Linked DNA regions of Homo sapiens: region 2 is linked to region 1. Evidence: promoter capture Hi-C in 16 types of primary human blood cells and fetal thymus (Javierre and others, 2016). All regions are on one chromosome and are shown on one strand. The core of a region is centred on a gene start or on the middle of the fragment in contact, and the rest is flanking DNA. Distances in the headings are between cores, read along the strand shown.

Region 1 (4,192 bases), core at 390-2,889:
GGAGTGAGACCCACCCAGCCCCTCACTGCCTGCAGAGCAGCCCTGTGCAATTGATCAGTGGGTGGGATGCTGTGTACGGCCCTGGCCGGCCCCTGATAAGTCATGGTTCCTTGGATCCTGCTGTTTTGTTTGGAATAGGCAGCCACAGGCTAGCGATCTCAGTTATCAGCTTAGAGCACCCCCTACTCAGTCCCTGGCATCCCAAAAGGGGACTCCATCCCTGCAGCCTCAGGGTTCTAAGTCAGGCTTCCTGGGGCCCGTAGGTACTGCGTTCCAGTCTCCACTTCCTCTACCCTCTCAATAACCGTGGCATGGAGCTTTGCACCTGCGTGGCCTTGGGCAAGTCGCTTCCCTCTCTGAGGCTCAGTATCCTCCTGTGAAATGGGGGGATGTGATTTCCATGTCCAGGGAGGCTTCCAGGAGCCTTTTGGAAAAGTATACAGCCCACAGCAGGCACTACGTGCTCAGGAGTGAGGAGCTGGGTTTTCTATTCCCTGCAGCACAGTCACTCCCAGTCCCCTGCCCCTTTTACCCTCCCTCCTGTCTTCCAAACTCTGTCGCCATCCTGGGATGGGCCCTTGTCCCTCAGCCCAGGCCAGACCCCCCACGCTCAATGCTTTGGGACTTCCCCTTCCCTCCCTCCTCTCCTGTCTCATGTCCTGGGCTGTTTCCTGTGTGTGTTTGTGTTTGGGCATCTCTGTCCCTTCTCCCTTCCCTGGGAACATTGGGAATCTTTGGGAAGGCCTGGGGGGAAGGGGTACGTCCATGGAATGGTCTGGCCTTCCTCCTTTAACTCCTTCCTTCCTGGGTCCCCCTATCCCACGCAGCTGTTTCTCTAAGGTTTTTACTTGCTACCCTGCTGAACTCCTCCTCTGGCCACCTCTGATGTCCACCCTCTAGGGTCTCTGTTTGTAGCATAGTCCAAAGAGCTGTTTAAGTCGATGGCCCTGGGCACATGACCCAATTGCTCCGTGCCTCAGTTTCCCCATCTGTATAAAAGGGACAGTTTCCTGGGGCTAAGGCAGGCGCAGTTGCCGTCACTGTTAGTAGGTGGGAGGCGGAGGGGGCAGCTACTCTGATTGACGGGCCGCCCCTCTCTTTCCTTTGCAGGAGTACGCCTCCCATCTCCCATCCTGCGCCTCCAGGGCTCCCGATGCCCCTTGCCCAGCCCGACTGGGCCCCAGTGTCCCGGCCTCCCAGCCCCTCCTCCCCTCCACCCTCCAGGCCCTCAGTCGCGGCCCCATTTCCTGTCGTGGGCGAGGCCCCCTCCCGGGCCTCCCAAGGAGCCCGCAGCGCTGGCATCCCCGGCCAGCAGCACATAACGGTCCGCGCCCCCCTCCCTCCCAGCCCCTTCCTTCCAGGACCCCTACCCTCCCCTGGCTGGAGGCACCCCAGTCTGCAGCGGGGTGCGGGGGGCTCCCCCTGATCCCCCCCACCGTCTGTCCTCGGGGCCCTGGGACCCCGCTCCCAGGCCGGGTGGGGCTCGGCGCCCCCTGTTCCCCACCGATCTCCGCTTACCGCGCTCCTTGGCGTCCGACTTTTTCCGGGGAAGTTTCTCCCGGCCCCGCAGGCGGGAGAAGGTTTTCCTGAGTAGCGGCTCGGCCATGCTGCGGCCCGGGCCGGGCCGAGCCGAGTGCGCGCCCCGGGCTCCGGCCGCGCCGCCCCGCGCCCTCCCCGCCCCGCCCGGGCCTCCCCGCCCGCCCCCCGCCCCGCGCCAGCAGGAAGCACATTCCGGGAATGCTTGGCCCAAACTTTTTTTTTTTTTCCCCTTTCCCGCGGCCCGAGCGGGCGATGCTGGGAGATGTAGTTGCCTGGGGCCGGGAGGGGTTGGAATGGGGGCTCCGGGTGCCCGGATCCGCTCCAGCTTCGATGGGACGTGACGATCGTGGCGCAGGCCCGATCCCTTGTCTTCCACCTCACCCACCCTCCCTGGATGGGACTCTGGGTGATGGCATCCAGGAAGTTCTCTTGGGTCTGTCTCCAAATCGCAGCCTCCACGTATCCTCTCTCTCCTTGCCAGGTACTGCTTCAACCTGGTGCAAGCCGTAGTGTCATTCGTTTCAATGACCGTCCCCACTACCCACCCCACCCCAAGCTTCTTCCTTGGTCTCCCCATGCCACTCTTTCCCCACTCAATTCTCTCACCTCCAAATTCCAATTACTACTGCTGTTTGACAAACCATCCCCAAACGTAATGATGTAAAACAACCATGTCGTGATTGTGAAAGGAAAATAAATCTTGAGACCTCCAAATCACTGAGCCAAAAGGAAGAAGTCAAACTGGTAACTGTGTAGGACAAACCTGCCTCCCATTCTATTCCTAAGTAAGATAGCTACAAGGTTAAAAAAGCTAGCTGGGCGCGGTGGCTCACTCCTGTAATCCTAGCACTTTGGGAGGCTGAGGCGACGGATCACTTGAGGTCAGGAGTTCGAAACCAGGCTGGCCAACATGGTGAAACTCCATCTCTACTAAAAATATGAAAAAGAAAAAAAATTGGCCAGGCATGGTGGGTGGGCACTGGTAATCCCAGCTATTTGGGAGGCTGAGGCAGGAAAATTGCTTGAACACGGGAGGTGGAGGTTGCAGTGAATCAAAATTGCACCACTGCACTCTAGCCTGGTCATCAGAGCAAGATGCCGTCTAAAAAAAAAGAAGAAAAGAAAAGAAAAAAAAAGCTACATACCTCCCCCACAATTTGCCTACAAGGAAATTCCTTATGGATGAAGGACAGGCAGAACTCAAAATTGTCCCTCTGCTCACATGAGACAAACACATATCTGATCGCTTCCTTACCTATTTGTTTCACTAAGCCAGACTAAGGCATAAGTGACTATCTCTGTAAATTGCATATTCAGAAAGGCTAGTCAGAAACTCGAAAGAATGCAATTGTTTCTCTCTTATCCACCTATAACCTGGAAGCCTTCTCCCTACTTTTGAGTTGTCCTGCCTTCCCAGACCAAACCCATGTGCATCTTACATATATTGATTGCTGTCTCATGTCTCCCTAAAATATATAAAACTAGACCAAGGTGGAGTGCAGTGGTACCACCACAGCTCACTGCAGTCTCAGCCTCTTGGGCTCAAGTGATGCTCCTGCCTCAGCCTCCCGAGCAAGTGGGACTATAGGCATGTGTCACCATACCTGGCTAATTTCCCTACTTTTTGTAGAGATAGAGTCTCATCATGTTGCCCAGACTGGTCTCAAACTCCTGGGCTCGGCTGGGTGCGGTGGCTCACGCCTCTAATCCCAGCACTGTGGGAGGCCAAGGCGGGCGGATCACCTGAGGTTGGGAGTTCGAGACCAGCCTGACCAACATGGGGAAACCCCTTCTCTACTAAAAACACAAAATTAGCTGGGGGTGGTGGTGCATGCCTATAATCCCAGCTACTCGGGAGGCTGAGGCAGGAGAATCTCTTGAACCCGGGAGGCGGAGGTTGCAGGGAGCCAATATTGTGTCACTGCATTCCAGCCTGGGCAACAAGAGTGAAACTCCGTCTCAAAAAAACAAAACAAAAAAACAAAACAAAACAAAAAACCCTCCTGGTCTCAAGTGATCTGCCCGCCTTGGCCTACCAAGTAGCTAGGATTACAGACCTGAATCAAGGTAGTGGCCCTGACTACCCTAGTTTATGTTGTCAGGAGCTTCTAAGTCTGTGTCACAGGCATGTCCATAACCTTGGCAAAATAAGCTTTCTAAATTTATTGAGACTTATCTGAGATACCTTTTGGTTTACATGATGCTCACAGATGCTGTGGTTCAGTTTGGACAGGGGAGACTTAGGCTAGAGGGTGACTAAAAAATGGCAGGGTCCTGAGTCATCTGGAGGTGTCTTCACTCAGAGGTCTTGCAACTGACGCCAGCTGTTGCTGGGGCTGTGGACCAGGGTAGCTACACAGGCCTCTCCGTGTGGTTCGGGTTTCCTTCCAGCATGGTGGTCTTGGGGTAGTCAGACTTCTTAGACAGCCACCCAGCCCTCTAAAAGTGAACAAGGAAGAAGTTGCATCTCTTCTGACCCAGCCTTGAGTGTCATGCTGTGTCACTTCTGCCACCAGATTCAAGGAAAGGGGGCACAGATTATACCTCTCTACATGGGAGGCATGTCAAGGTGACATTGTACAAGTGGATGTAGGGTGGGAGATATTGTGGCCATCTGGGAAAATATAACCTGTCTTAGCCCTACATTTCATTC
Region 2 (4,103 bases), core at 1,216-3,715, 810 kb before region 1:
TATTCAAATAATATTTAAGCTTTTAATAGAGCTTAAAATATTTGCCTAGATATCATATGCATGTTTTGTTAAATCAATCCTTAGATATTTTGTTGCTATGGTGAAATGTATCTTTTATTCAGATAGAGGGAAATGTATAAATTCATTGGAAATACAGAGACTTTACGTCTCTTGTTAAAATTTAATTCAGATATTTTATATTATTATCATTATTATTAATATCTTATCTTTTATCTTTTTCCAGATGCTTCTTATTTTCCTGGAAAAAAAATCAACTCAATCTGGTTGCCATGTCTTATAATAGGACAATGTTTAGATTACTCAAGTATATAGTTTTTTTTAAAGGCTGTTAAAAGCTCTAGAAGAAACCATGGGAAAATTATTTTATAGCTTCAGAGTAGGGATAACCCTATTTTGATACAAGTCCCAGGAGCTACACAAGAAAAGACTGACATACTGTTAAATGAGAAAAGATATGGAATATGTGTATAGTATATGATGTACTCATATTTTTAAGATACTAAAAATTATCTCTAGAAAGATACATAAAAATAATAATAACTTAGGCAACCTGTGAGGAGAAGAAGCAGGTGACTTTGGGCCATAGGGGTAGAGGATGTTTTATAGTTTTTAAATTTAGAGCCACTTAAGTGTACAATGTATTAAAATTTTAAACAGCCACAGAAAAAGAAGAAAGATTAAGCAAACAATTCAGCTCCCTTACTGGGTCTTAAATGTTTATAAATGTTTTCCAGTGAAGTGTTCTGTTTTTCTAAGTATAAAATCACCGTCTGCCACCACCACATTTCAAATTGCATTCCTCTCTTTTTTATTCCCTTGTCTAATTGCATTTGCTACTATCGCTAATACAATGATGAATAAGAGCAAAACAGTGGATCTGGGTATTTTGTTTCTTATTCACTTGCATTTTGTGTTTGCTTTCTTACCATAAAGGATATTTACCTTTAGGCCAATATGTTAACCTTTTTAATAGCTGGCTTCAGAGTGTTGTGTTTTCCTCAGAATAATCTTTAAAAAATCGGCACCATTTTTTTCTGGTACTTTTCTAATTTTCTGCTTTTCTAATTTTTTTCTGCTTTTTAAATTCTCCAGTATTTCATCCATGTGGAATTTATTTTGTGATAGGGAGAAAAAGTCTCGCTTGGAAACAGAGAAGCTGGAGAATTGTGTCTTTGTTCCCTTGATAATGATTGGGGCTGGGGTGTTTTCTTAGGGACGACCTGGCCCAGCTGCCCTTCCTGACCATGTGCATTAAGGAGAGCCTGCGGTTGCATCCCCCAGTCCCGGTCATCTCCCGATGTTGCACGCAGGACTTTGTGCTCCCAGACGGCCGCGTCATCCCCAAAGGTGCTCACAGCCTCAGGGGGAGGAGCCTCCTGGGTAGCAAGAGGGGTCCCTCAGGCAGGGGGGCCTTGTCCTGACTGCCCTCTTCTCTCCCACAGGCATTGTCTGCCTCATCAATATTATCGGGATCCATTACAACCCAACTGTGTGGCCAGACCCTGAGGTAGTGCCTCCCTCACCCCACCCTTTTTGGAGTCCATTCCAAGGTTCCTAGAGGAGGTGACAGGGTTTTGACCAGGAAAATCCAACATCACCTCTCCTCAATGGAGACACATCTGCCAAAATGTCTCTCCAAGGCCGGGGGTCTTGGAGACAACTGGGAGACCCCACCCAACTGGGTGACCCCACCCAGCAAGCCTTCTTGGTCTCACCTGCAGGTCTACGACCCCTTCCGTTTCGACCAAGAGAACATCAAGGAGAGGTCACCTCTGGCTTTTATTCCCTTCTCGGCAGGGCCCAGGTAAGGATGGCCTGTGTCTGAGGCAGAGATGGCATGATGGGTGCAGGGGTCCAAAAAGGGGGAAGTTACAGATGGTCCCAGTTCCAGCTCTCCTTCCCTCCCTTCCTCAGGAGTTCATGGGCAACTGTTCACAGAATGGGTTTGGGAAGGTCCTAGAGGGGTCTGCGGTGTGCTCAGAGTCCCCTCCTTCATCTGTTTATCTGAACTGGGGGTAGGAGCCTGGGCCAGGTTTGGGGGATATGCAAGCACACATGGGAGTCCTGTGGACACTTATCCCCTCTTTCTGCCCCTCAAGCCTATGTGGGTGCGTTTGGGGTCCCAGGCCAGGTTCTAAGCATGATGGGGCCGGGATGGGGGTCATGGGCACAGTCAGATTCCCTCACTTTTGCCCCCAGAAACTGCATCGGGCAGGCGTTCGCCATGGCTGAGATGAAGGTGGTCCTGGCGCTCACCCTGCTGCACTTCCGCATCCTGCCGACCCACACTGAACCCCGCAGGAAACCCGAGCTGATATTGCGCGCAGAGGGTGGACTTTGGCTGCGGGTGGAGCCCCTGGGTGCGAACTCACAGTGACTGTCCTACCCACCCACCCACCTCTGTAGAGTCCCAGAAACAAAACTATGCTGACACCTCTGCTTGAGCCTCGTTGACAGCCAGCATGGGGCTCCTGGGGACTGGTGGGATCTAAGAAAGGGAGGTGAGTGGGTGGAGGCAGGGTGACGTCTCTGAACCCAAAACCCTGACGGCCTCTCTGGCTGAGCACAGGGCATCTAGGCCCTTAGTGGGTTCTCCCAGAGCCCAAGTAAAAACTTTATCCTGTGGGCAGTAGGGAGCCCTGGGAGGTGTTTGAGCAGGAGAGGGAACAGGATTAAGAATGGGTTTAAGGAGCAAGACTGAGACTCTGATTCAGCGAGAAACAACCATAGGGGCAGATCCCTTCATCTGTCCTGGGAATGTCCTCCCAAGACTGGAGTCCTCAGCTCAGAACAAAGGGAAAGGGGTGCAGCTTCCACCCTGGCAGGCTCTCAGAAATTTTTAGTTCCTTTTTCCACCAACTTCCCACCCCTGTTTCTCCCCCTCCCAGTGCGTTCTCTCTGTGACTCTCTTCCCTTACTTTCAGAGGCATAGGATCTGGAGCCAGACTGCTTGGGCTCAAGTCCTGGCTCTGCTGCGTGACTTGAGCAAGTTAATTCCTCTCTCTGTGCCTCGGTTCCCTCAACCATATAATGGAGACAACAGCATTACCTATATCAGGGTTTTCCTGAGGTCTCAATATAAGGGACTCAGAGCTGTGCCTGGCACACAATGAATGCTAAATATATGGAGCCATTATTATTTCCTGTCTCAGAAAGTCTGGCTGTTAAAGAATGTTGTCTTTCAAGATCGTTATTTCTACCACGACTTTAAAGGCTGTGTTTTGGAACTCAAAGGCAAAAATTCTAATATCTGTGCTCCTTGAACAACCTCTTCTCCTAGAGGGCTGTGCATATAAGATATGTATATATATATATATATTATATATATATATATATACACACACACACACACACACACACACATATATACATATACACACACACACACACACACACACACACACACACACATATATATATATATATATTTTTTTTTTTTTCCTGAGGATGGTGAAGGTACCTGACTGTGTGAGGTGGTAGGAGAATGAGAGAAACCTCAGTCAGTGTCTCAAAATAAAATCCTGCTACAAACATTGATCTCTTTTCATAGCCTAAGGGATGTTGCATCGCTAAACCCTGTTGACTTCTCTAATCTCTTCTGTAGCTGATCTCCTTCCCTTGCTACACTCGGTTACTCTGGCCTTGATTCTGATCTCCAAATACATTATATTTTTTATTTGGGACCATCGTATTGCCTTTGCACCTTTATCAAATATAAGTTGCCTATATTTATTTGGATCTATTTTTTGGGCTTTTAATATTCTGTTCCATTGACCTATTTCTCTTTTCTTTTACCAATACCGCAACATCTTGGTTACTGTAGCTTCACGGTAAGTCTTAAAACTTGGATATTGTCAGTCCTCCAACTATGTTCTACTCCTTCAATATTGTGTTGGTTATTCTGAGTCTTTTGTCTCTCCATATAAATTGTAGAATTAGATTGCTGATATCCATAAAAAAACTTTCTGGAGGGCCCCAGGGAGCGCGGGGCGCCGCTGCTGCTGCTGCTGCTCCTCGGCTGGGTTGTGTCTACTGGGCCCGCGGCTGCGGCGGCAGAGGGGCCTGAGCCGGGAGCCGCGCTC

The links. Contacts are between HindIII fragments. The CHiCAGO score rates a contact against its expected background, and 5 or more counts as called.
Region 2: a fragment that was not itself captured here is called in contact with the fragment with the promoter of SYDE1 in region 1 in 1 of 17 cell types (neutrophils); the score reaches 5.4 in neutrophils.

What each region holds. Positions count from the first base shown.
Region 1 is chr19:15,104,848-15,109,039 of GRCh38, reverse strand. SYDE1 (synapse defective Rho GTPase activating protein 1) reads right to left here and starts at 1,639. Exons shown (of 8, transcript NM_033025.6): 1 at 1,519-1,639. The coding sequence starts at 1,606. The HindIII fragment of the contact is 2,464 bases long and covers 1-2,097 here.
Region 2 is chr19:15,912,027-15,916,129 of GRCh38, reverse strand. CYP4F11 (cytochrome P450 family 4 subfamily F member 11) reads left to right here. Exons shown (of 12, transcript NM_021187.4): 9 at 1,235-1,368; 10 at 1,464-1,528; 11 at 1,743-1,825; 12 at 2,221-3,753. The coding sequence ends at 2,398. It also overlaps the pseudogene LOC729654. Among named protein-coding and RNA genes, the nearest start is that of CYP4F2, 16 kb to the right of the region's middle. The HindIII fragment of the contact is 4,888 bases long and covers 22-4,103 here.